Regions from separate parts of the Homo sapiens genome. Here regions 1 and 3 are each linked to region 2. The links are contacts of gene promoters, found by promoter capture Hi-C in blood cells and fetal thymus (Javierre and others, 2016). All regions are on one chromosome and are shown on one strand. Each heading gives the region's core, a stretch centred on a gene start or on the middle of the fragment in contact. The rest is flanking DNA. Distances are from core to core; before and after follow the strand shown. Region 1 overlaps SYPL2 (synaptophysin like 2). Region 2 holds the start of STRIP1 (striatin interacting protein 1). Region 3 holds the start of PSMA5 (proteasome 20S subunit alpha 5).

Region 1 (3,409 bases), core at 46-2,545, 560 kb before region 2:
CTTCGTGACCCTTGGCATCTTTTCCTTCTTCTATACCATGGCTGCCCTAGTTATCTACCTGCGCTTCCACAACCTCTACACAGAGAACAAACGCTTCCCGCTGGTGGTGAGTCAGCACAGGCCAGAAGGAATGGGGTGGAGAAACAGATGTTTGTGAGGGGGTTGAGGTCAGAACTGGAGCAGAGGACAAGCATGGCGGCTTCCACCCCCATGGTGGAACCTCTGCCTCCATCAACCTCCCGTTGCTTGCTCCTGTTCACAGGAGGCACAATAGCACCATACACAAGCAGGCTCTGGAGTTAGACTGCCTGGGTTCAGATCCCAGCATGGCCCCTTACTTGCTGTGTGATCTCGGACAAGTTAAATAACCTCTCTAAATCGCAGTTTCCTTAACTATAAAATGGGGATAAAATAATACCTGCTTCATAGTTTTGTGTGTGTATGTGAAAAAATGAGAATGCATGTATCTAGTACATAGTTAGTCTCAATAAGCATTAGCGATTATTAATATTATTCCTCTTTACTCTCTTCCTATCCCAGGCATGCAAGGCGGAAGGGGTGCCTTAAGGGACCCCATTTGCGTCCTGCAGTCTGCCACTTGTATCTGAGCAATGGTGATCAAAGAAAAAGCTGGGAGGGAAGAGTGGGGAATTTAGGCTCCACTTGGGATGAGTGGGTTTTGGGGTGAGGCTGACCAACGATGCCTTGGTACACTGTTGCCAGATCTTAGATCTGAGGGCATTAGCAGGGCTAGCCTGAGTGGCAGGACTCCTTTGGGGGCAGTGAACAGATGCCTCAGGACCACCTGGGTTCTAGGTGTTGGGTAGGATGGGAAGAGGCAACTGTCCTGGCACCCTGGGATTGCCAGTATCATGGCAAGTGGAAAAGAAGCAAGGGAATCATGGGGCCTTTCTGAGTGTATTTCCCATCCCTCTGCTCCTCCCAGGACTTCTGTGTGACTGTCTCCTTCACCTTCTTCTGGCTGGTAGCTGCAGCTGCCTGGGGCAAGGGCCTGACCGATGTCAAGGGGGCCACACGACCATCCAGCTTGACAGCAGCCATGTCAGTGTGCCATGGAGAGGAAGCAGTGTGCAGTGCCGGGGCCACGCCCTCTATGGGCCTGGCCAACATCTCCGTGGTGAGACCTGTGGCCACTGCAGGAAGCAGCACCAGCCCTGCTGCCCAGGCCTGTCCCAGCTAGCAGGTCCTGAAAGGAAAGAGAGGGTGTCCCAGAGCTGGTGTCCCCTGCACCTGGAGCTGGTGCCCTCACTGCGCTTCATGCTGGCTGCTGGCTCCTGGCTGACCCTGAGAGGACATTTTGGGATGAGGGGAACCCAAAAGCCACTTAGCCTTCTGTTCCTTCCTCCTTCTGCACTCTGCCTCCAATTCCCTTCTCATTTCCCCACCTCTAGGCACGCTCTCTGTGATGTCTCCCCTCCTCCTGCCTGTTCTACACAATGTGTGTGAACACATAAAGGGGAGCCTGGGGCTGTGGCTGAGCTTGAAGCTGCGAGCAGACCCAGCATGAGTGGGAAGGGGCTTACTGTCACTCAGCCCTCCAGCCTGGAAAGGGGCTTTGGAGCAGTAGTGGGTCTGCTGGATGCATATGGATTTGGCCATCCCAGTTGTTAGAATGTTGAAATATGTCCATATCCATTGGTAAAGAGCTGAGGTCTTGAGCTTCTCAAATGCTGCCCGTCATCCCAGCCACCTCAGCCCTGCTCTGAAAATGACTTGTTCCCACATCTGAAATGTTTAATGGCTGGCACACCAGGAACACACGTCTGGAACTTGCTGGAACCCTGCTTATGGTTCCCCCCCAAAAAAATTTTATTGTAGAAATGTTCACAGGTACAACAAAGTTGAAAGAATTTTACAGTGAATACCCATGCACTCACCACCTAGACTGTGCCATTAACTTTTTACTAGACTTGCTTTATCACATATTTATTCACTTCTTCATCCATCAATCCGTCTTGTTTTTAGTGCATTTCAAAGATAATTTGGGACATCAGTACACTTCCCTCTAAGTACTTCCTGCTGTGAGGTTTTTAAAATATGTTGAATAACTATTTGAACATAGCCCTGGCTAGGTGCCTGATCACAGGGAAGGAGCACCTTGGACAGCTCCTGCCACACCTACCTGGCGGAAGGTGCTCCGAACAGGGCCTCACGCGTGCTGTGGGAGGCGCCCCAGGGCTGACTTTTGCTTGGCTCCTTGCTATGCTTTGCACGATGCTCCTCTAAAGGGTCAGATTCTGCTAGTGACCAAGCTACAGCTTGGGTGCATGGTGTGGACAGAATTAGACACTTTCACCTGGGATTCCCCTAAACAGTTGATGGTCCTGAGCCCTGCCTCTATACCGAGCTCTCTGTCTTAGTCTTTCTAGTCCTCTGTGCTTCTTCCCTGCACAAGCCCCAACCCCAACTGCAATAGGAACTCCCCCTCCCTGTTCCCACAATGACCCCCTGACTATTCTCACAAATTCCCCTGATGTCTTTGCAGCTCTTTGGCTTTATCAACTTCTTCCTGTGGGCCGGGAACTGTTGGTTTGTGTTCAAGGAGACCCCGTGGCATGGACAGGGCCAGGGCCAGGACCAGGACCAGGACCAGGACCAGGGCCAGGGTCCCAGCCAGGAGAGTGCAGCTGAGCAGGGAGCAGTGGAGAAGCAGTAAGCAGCCCCCCACCTGGCTATTCCCGAACTGGACAGCACCTCTTCAACCACCTCCGGCTTCCAGGACCTTTCTCTTCCTCCTCCTCCAATTCCCCTCCCCCATCATTCTGGTCTTTGAGCTTTGAGACGATGGGCAGGCATCAGCTGTTGGAAACCTGGGCAGCCCTCTCAGTGGCTTCCTATCCTCCTTCTTGCTGGAGCCATGAATGGCAGGAGCTCAGTGCTTCTTGTGCAGTGCCTGGACCCAGGTATCTTACTTGGGGTCTTACTTGTACCCTTACAGTCTCTGAGAACCAGCCTCTGCTGCAGGTGAGGGTTGGGGGCAGGAAACCAGTGCTCTGAGACTGGTTCCTAGCAGCCACCTTTCTGTCAACCTGTCCGGCTTCAACAATATTAGGGGGAAGGGAAATCAGCTAGTAGCCTTCCCCTCTGGTCCCTTGTGTGGAGGCCCCAATAGTGGTTTGGCGACCCCTCCTCAGTGGCTGTCATCTAGTCCCTGCGTCTGATCTCCAGTCATCCCATGACTCAGTGTGCCTTCCACTGTCTTCTCTGGCCTCTGCCTGCCCACAGAATCCACCATGTGTGAACCAGAGAGGTCCACCAGCCTAGAAAACAGCCCTTCAGAGGGTCCTGATGAGGCCTTCCTGGACTCAGCTGGGAGCAAGATAAATTGCAACTGAGTTGCAGCTTCAAGAAAGTAAAGCCAGTAAGCTTGCTGGCAGAATCAATTTCT
Region 2 (3,284 bases), core at 463-2,962:
CTCGAATGGTTTTCCATTTCACTTAGAATAAAATTCAAACTCCTTCCCACTACCTTCAAGGCCCTGCATTCTTCTGGTCCCTGCATTATCATTATATGGCTCTATCAATTACTATCCCTCCCTTGGCTCACTCAATTCCAGACACTAACATCAGGGCTTTTGCATTTAGCTGTTTCATCTGTCTGTGTGCCCTTCCTGGAACTTTGCAGGGCTTCTCCTCACTTCTTTCAGAACTCATCTAAAATCACACCCTCAGGCCTGCCTTCCTTGGGCAGCATGCTTATATTATAGCCACATTCTCCGCCTCCACCAACCCCTGCCCCCCGCCCCACTGCCACCTTTTAACCTCTCAATTTTTGTTACTTCTGACAAAGATTCTCTTCTTTGGCCAAAACTCTAGTCAGGCTCCTGTGAGTCCTCTGCCTACTAGGACTAACCGTTTGGGCTTCCTTTCTGTCCTTGTTGAATCCAGTTTGTGCAGGGACTCTCCACTCTTGGCGTCTTAATCCATTTTTTGTTGCTATAACAGAATACAAAACACTGGGTAATTCATAAAGGAAAGAAAGTTATTTTTTGCAGTTCTGGAGTCTGGGGAGCCCAAAGTCGAGGGGTTGCATTTGGTGAGGGCTTTCTTAAACTGCATGGTAGAGAGCCTCTCACGGTGAGAAAGCAAGAGCATGTGTGCCAGCTCAGATCACTCTTCCTCTTCTTATAAAGCCACCAGTCCCATCACAGGGGCCCTACCCTGACGATTTTATCTAATCCTAATCACCCCCTCAAGGCTCCACCTCCAAATACCATCAACATATGAACTTTAGGATTGAGTTTCCAACGTATGGAATTTGGGGGACACAGTCAAACCATAGCACTCGGTATCTGACCACCCTCAACATCTTAGCACCCTGTCCTGCTTTCAGCAATAATCCTGTTAGGTCAGTTTAGCAAGAAACTTCTTATCCTTGATGTTTCTCTTAGTAGTTTTCCGTCCACTGACCCTCATCCTGCTCTTTGGTTATAAATCCCCACTATATCTTGTTGGAGTCAGAGTTGAGTCTAATTCCTCTTCTTCACTGCAAGATCTGGTTGTAGTGGTCCCTGTAACTATCACCATGGGCTCTCTTACATAAAGTCTGCCTTACCATCTTTAATTAGTGCCATGAACAAATTTTCCTTTAACACTTTTCAGCATTTATTTCTCTATATTTGTCTATTGTTTGTCTGACCCACCAAGCACTGTTATGTACCGTGACTGCAGACACTTGTTCCTCATTTTATCCCACTGCTTGGTGCACAGGAGACATTTATTAAATGTTTGTTGAATGAATGAATGACAAGCACTTGTCACAACGGTAACTCTGTGAAGACTAGGATCCTATCCATTTTGTTCATTACAAAATTCCGCCTAAGCCTTGAACAAGGCTATGAGTTATAAGTGCAAAGCGATTTAGAGGAAGGAGGGGTAACTAAACTGACTGAAGAAGCTAAGGGAAGCCTCACAGATAAAATTACATCTAAACTGAAACTGAAAGGAAGGTGGAAAACTAAAAAGATCAACAAGGGAAGGACTGCAGACAGAATATCGCGAGGTATTGGTCAGCCAAGATGGCTTCTAACACTGGCCGCCACACTTAATATGGCGGCCAGGGAAATTTCCTGGAGAAAATCACGCGAGAGTTGCATCACGGCGGCTGTGCGCGAGTTAAGCTGGGGGTGTGGAGCAGCCAAGATGGAGCCGGCAGTCGGCGGTCCGGGCCCACTGATCGTGAACAACAAACAGCCCCAGCCCCCGCCACCTCCGCCGCCGGCAGCCGCACAGCCACCACCCGGGGCACCGCGGGCCGCCGCGGGCCTCCTGCCTGGGGGCAAAGCCCGCGAGTTCAACCGCAACCAGCGCAAAGACTCAGAGGTCAGGAGCTTCGGGGGGCGAGGCTCGCACCGGGTCGGGCGGCGCCGGGGGTCCCGGGCCCGGGGCCACTCTAGGGGCCAGGTTGGGCTTCCCGGAGGGCTCGGTAGAGTCCGGCCGAGAACTGTCACTATACAGCGAAAGGAGCAGGAAGCGAGGCTGGCAGCTCCTGGGGTCTGGAGCATGAGTCCTTGCTCTAGCTCCGCCGCCCGGGAGAGCTTCCCGTGGCCGGCGACTGCTGGTTTGCTCCCCTGGGCCCCGACTGTGGGCGTGGCCTCGAGGCCCTAGCCCCTGGGGAAGCCGCTCTCGCCCCAGCTCGGGGGTGAGGAGTCGGGGGTCTTGGTGCACTCCAGGGCGCTGGGCTGCCGCGCCCCCAACCTAATCATCTCGGGCGTCTGTCCCTGGCACGCGGGCTCCAGCTCCTGGGTCCTGCCGCTCGCAGAGGAAGGCGCGTGTGGGCAGGGAAGGCGCCGGCGAGGATCTGGAAGGAACTTAGAGCCGGACCGAGCTAATTATCATTGAGAGTAGAGTAGGAGGGGGAAACATGTCCTGTTCTTCTGACCTGAGCCAGATCAGGCCATGGGTTAACAGTACCTGTGGTGGGCTATTGTGCCCAGTGCGCCTGATACTGAACTGTTAAAGATGAGAAATAGACATTTTAAGCATGCGTTAGGACCCAACATTCCTTCCTGTCTCGCTAGTGAGCCGTTCCTGCCGTTCTGGAGATGGCATAGTCTGGAACTGACTAGTAACCTCACCCCAAGTTAAGGAATTCCTCCCACTGCCTCCTTTTGCAGAATTCATGAATGAAGATACTCATGTCGCGGAGTTTTAGGGCTTCTTAATGAGCAGGTTCCCAGAGCACTTACTATGCCATCTCCTAGATTGATCAGCAGCCAAACTGATCAGCCAAGTTAATGAGAGGGAATTCCTAGTTGTCCAAGCATAATGTACCAATTCATACCAAAGAGCAATGATACTACCTTTAGACCTGTGGAATCAGTTCCTCAGAAGCTTTTATTTTTTGTTAGCAAGGCTAAACCCCTGAGAAAACATGTCAACAATTGGCAAGCCCGAAGTAGACGTAATTTGAGCTTGGAGTGAATTATTTGAAAAAAACAAAAACACTGACCATTTAGGAGCCCTGGCATGGTGGGATGACGGACATCAGTGTTAACTACTCAGTTTTTCAAGTGGAAGATTACGAAAGTGCAGGGGGGTGAACCTACCTTCATCATGAGAGGAGTTATCATTTTGAAAAATGGTTTAAAATTTTCCAGAGTAGCTACGAATGGTCAAATAGATACCCTCTGACGAATTGTAATTTCTCTTTGTACCCTTTAATTTCCACATAGAGGCCGGGTGCAGTGGCTCACGCCTG
Region 3 (3,174 bases), core at 260-2,759, 610 kb before region 2:
ATCATGCCACTGCACTGCAGCCTGGCGACAGAGCGAGACTCCGTCTCAAAAACAAACAAAACCCAGGAGGGGGAGGTTGCAGTGAGCCAAGATCACGTCACTGCACTCCAGCCTGGGCCACAGAGCGAGACTGTCTCAAAAGAGTCTCCTATATGCGAGCAAGGAGCTTGATTTTGTCCATTGCTGTAGCACCAGCACCTAGAACAGTGCCTTGTTCACAGCAAGCACTCAAGCACATTAACTAAGAGAATAAAAAGGGATGTATTTTAGGCCGTCTTGGGAAGACAGAAAAATAAGTAACAAAGCAGTCAATACATATGTTAAGTAAATGGCCACAAAATTTAATAAATGCCTTCTGATAAGCATAACAATTTCTATCATACACACCCTAACTCAAAATTATGTCACCCGAAGATGATTCTCTTCAATGTTCTGGAAGTTAAATATCGACCAACAAAGTCACTTTATAGGACAGTGGGGAAATATGTCAAAACTTCACACACATCTTCTACGAGTCAGTAAAAAAGATGAAAAAGTGGTAACTGCAGGTGGTAAAACTTCGACAGGATCAGCATATACTTGACAGGAAATGCAGCATCTCATACCACTCAGTACAAAGAAAATGTCTGCCTTCCCTGACTTTAAAAAAGAGTAGCTATGTAAAAACTTAACTGACGAAAACAGAAACTGAAAGTAAAAATGTCTACAGCATATATATGTACAACTTAATATTGTGAACATTTTCATACCACAAAAGTTTTTTAAAACTTGCTTTAAACTTTTAAAAAGTCAGAAAAAATTTTGGTCAATTGGAATCGGCATGATGAGAAATCTCTTGAAAACCATTCTAAATTCCAGTTCCTATAAAATCAGACTCCAGACAATATATCCAGCCAAAGCTACGACTGCCTTCGCGCTTCTGAAGAAACTATACACCGCAGCATGCCCTACTACAAACCAGTTGCTTTTTCTTCCAGGAAGCACGTTTAACTTTTTGTTTGTTTGTTCAAGGCAGTCATACTAGGCACGAAAAGATGAACGGAGCAAAGAGTGACCCTTGGCCTTCTCCGGGTTCAAGGTAGGAGTTCCGGCTCCTCACGCCTTCTTTACCAAGCACCAGCCGGAGCTTCTCGCTTCCGCACCGAGTTAGGACCCAGGGGTGACTCAGCGGTAGGACAAGTGCCGCCGATGTGGTCTAGCTTGGGGAAGGACGGCGGGCGCCTGAGGAGGGCATAACATCCCCAGGTCCGGCCAGTCTCGGGTTCCTGGGGAGCCCCATGACACGGCAGAACCCAGGCCGCGCGGCCAGGTCCCGGGCCTGCCCACCCATAATTCCCACCCGACGTCCCCCAGCTGCACGGACCTGTCGTACTCAGACCGGGTAAGAAACATGGCGAGGGTAGGAGGAGGCAGCGGCTACGCGGGGATTCTGAGGACCAACACGACTCCACCGGCACCCAACTCACCGGCAGCCAACTCACCCACACGGCCGCAGTACTAAGGACCAACTGCGCGTGCGACCGCGACCTCTTTAGCCCGCCCTCCTGTGCCTGCTTCCTATTGGCTGGTAGTAGTTCCCGCCTAGGTGATTGGGCCAACGCGCTTCCTCACGAGGGCTTGGTTGGTCCGGAGGAGGAGGAGGACCAGGGAGGTACTTCCGCCTTAAATCGCGGGTGGTTGCTAGGGACGATAGGCACCCAAGGCGTGTAGTGAGTTCGCCTTGTAGAGAAGATGTGAGCCCGCCCCAAGACTGGCAATTGGAAAGGCTTGCATGCAGAGCTGGGTTGTCTGAACCCTGACATAATAGGTCCCTCGCCGGCTCCCGTAATCCCAGCTAGAGGACTTTGGTCCCGTTTCCGGCAAGGCCACCACCTGACTTCTCTTCGCAGGATTCCCTCTCTTAGGGTTCCTCCACGGTGTTCTCCATGCCCGGTCGAGGGCTCCAGGACTTTGGGCGGTAATGAGTCGGCTACAGTGGGTCTGAGCCGGCGCCGCGGACGAGTCCCTTCGTTTCAGCCAGTTTGGCTCGTTTATTGAGAAAAGTGGGGGGCGAGGGGTTAGTATGTAAGAAAGTCTTAAAGTTTCCACATGGTTAAGGTAATTTTATCAACTCTTTCTTGCACCCCTCCCCCTAGTACAGGTTTCAGACCTAAATAACCTAGAGTTCAGGATCCAGACTTCAAAATATTCACTGCTTTTTCTGTTGTTTGTGAAAAATAAGTGTTTTCTTTGAGCCCAGATCGTGCTATTGCACTCCAGCCTGGGCAACAGCCAAACCCTATCCGAAAAAAAAAAAAAAAAAAAAAGCGCTTTCTTTTTCGACGCTTCTTGCTTCCCTTCAATAAGTTGCTTGAGGAGCAACTTTGCAGCTTCGTAATAACACTGTAATTCAAGTATTTGTTCAAGAAAGGCAAGTAAGAAGTCTTGGCACGGGGGTGGGGAATATAGGGAAATGTTGGTCAAATGATACAAAGTTTCAGTCAGAGAAGGTGGATGAGTTCTATAGTTAATAATCATATATTGTGTACTTGAAATTGTGAAGAGGGTACACCTTAAATGTTCTCACCACAGGAAAGTATGTGAGATGATGGATTATGTTGATTAGCTTCATTTAATTATTTGCAGTGTGTGTGTGTATATATATGTATATCAAAACGTCACGTTGTATACCATAAACATGAACAATTTCTATTTGTCACTTACACCTTAAAGCTGGAGTCGGGGGAAAGAAATCATTTATCAGGCAGTATATGCTGGAAAGGGAAATGCCAGCATCTCATTTCCAGTTGTTAATGTGATACCACTAGTCAAGTCCTTAACCTCTCAAGGCCTGTATCTCTCCAGTAAAGTTCATTCTTGGTCCTAGATTAGGTTTGTAAGTCACCAAGGCATTTCAAAGGTGCAGGAAATGTAAAAATAAGCCTTTTGAGTATTAACCAAGATTAGTTTTCCCCACCCTTTATTTTCTGACTTCCTTCATGGATTCAGTAGGAGTTTAGTTTGGTCATCCCTGGCCAATCAGATGTTTAGCACTAATAAAACTGAGGAAGAACTCCAAGTAGCAATCCTCTGGGATCTGTTAGATTTCTGAGAAAAGAATGGTAATTTTTAGCTTTCTTGTCAGCTTTCTGACAAGCTTTTTTTTTTTTTCACCTTATCAGTTATTTTCTATGG

Evidence for each region. The method cuts DNA at HindIII sites, captures the fragments that hold promoters and counts their contacts. A CHiCAGO score of 5 or more calls a contact.
Region 1: a fragment that was not itself captured here is called in contact with the fragment with the promoter of STRIP1 in region 2 in 1 of 17 cell types (monocytes); the score reaches 5.1 in monocytes.
Region 3: a contact is called between the fragment with the promoter of PSMA5 here and the fragment with the promoter of STRIP1 in region 2, in 4 of 17 cell types (non-activated CD4 T cells, total CD8 T cells, activated CD4 T cells and 1 more). The highest score is 6.6, in non-activated CD4 T cells.

What each region holds. Positions count from the first base shown.
Region 1 is chr1:109,476,872-109,480,280 of GRCh38, forward strand. SYPL2 (synaptophysin like 2) reads left to right here. Exons shown (of 6, transcript NM_001040709.2): 4 at 1-106; 5 at 947-1,138; 6 at 2,507-3,409. The coding sequence ends at 2,677. Among named protein-coding and RNA genes, the nearest start is that of ATXN7L2, 5.3 kb to the right of the region's middle. RefSeq lists an enhancer at 662-1,181. The HindIII fragment of the contact is 4,180 bases long and covers 1-3,385 here.
Region 2 is chr1:110,032,912-110,036,195 of GRCh38, forward strand. STRIP1 (striatin interacting protein 1) reads left to right here and starts at 1,713. Exons shown (of 21, transcript NM_033088.4): 1 at 1,713-1,906. The coding sequence starts at 1,727. LOC105378895 (a long non-coding RNA gene) reads right to left here and starts at 2,528. Exons shown (of 3, transcript XR_947693.3): 1 at 2,498-2,528; 2 at 438-520. RefSeq lists an enhancer at 1,388-1,777 and silencers at 1,778-1,997, 2,238-2,307. The HindIII fragment of the contact is 6,759 bases long and covers 1-2,915 here.
Region 3 is chr1:109,424,939-109,428,112 of GRCh38, forward strand. It overlaps PSMA5 (proteasome 20S subunit alpha 5), which reads right to left and starts at 1,510. Exons shown (of 9, transcript NM_002790.4): 1 at 1,364-1,510. The coding sequence starts at 1,392. RefSeq lists enhancers at 1,573-2,504, 2,011-2,070. The HindIII fragment of the contact is 5,034 bases long and covers 1-3,134 here.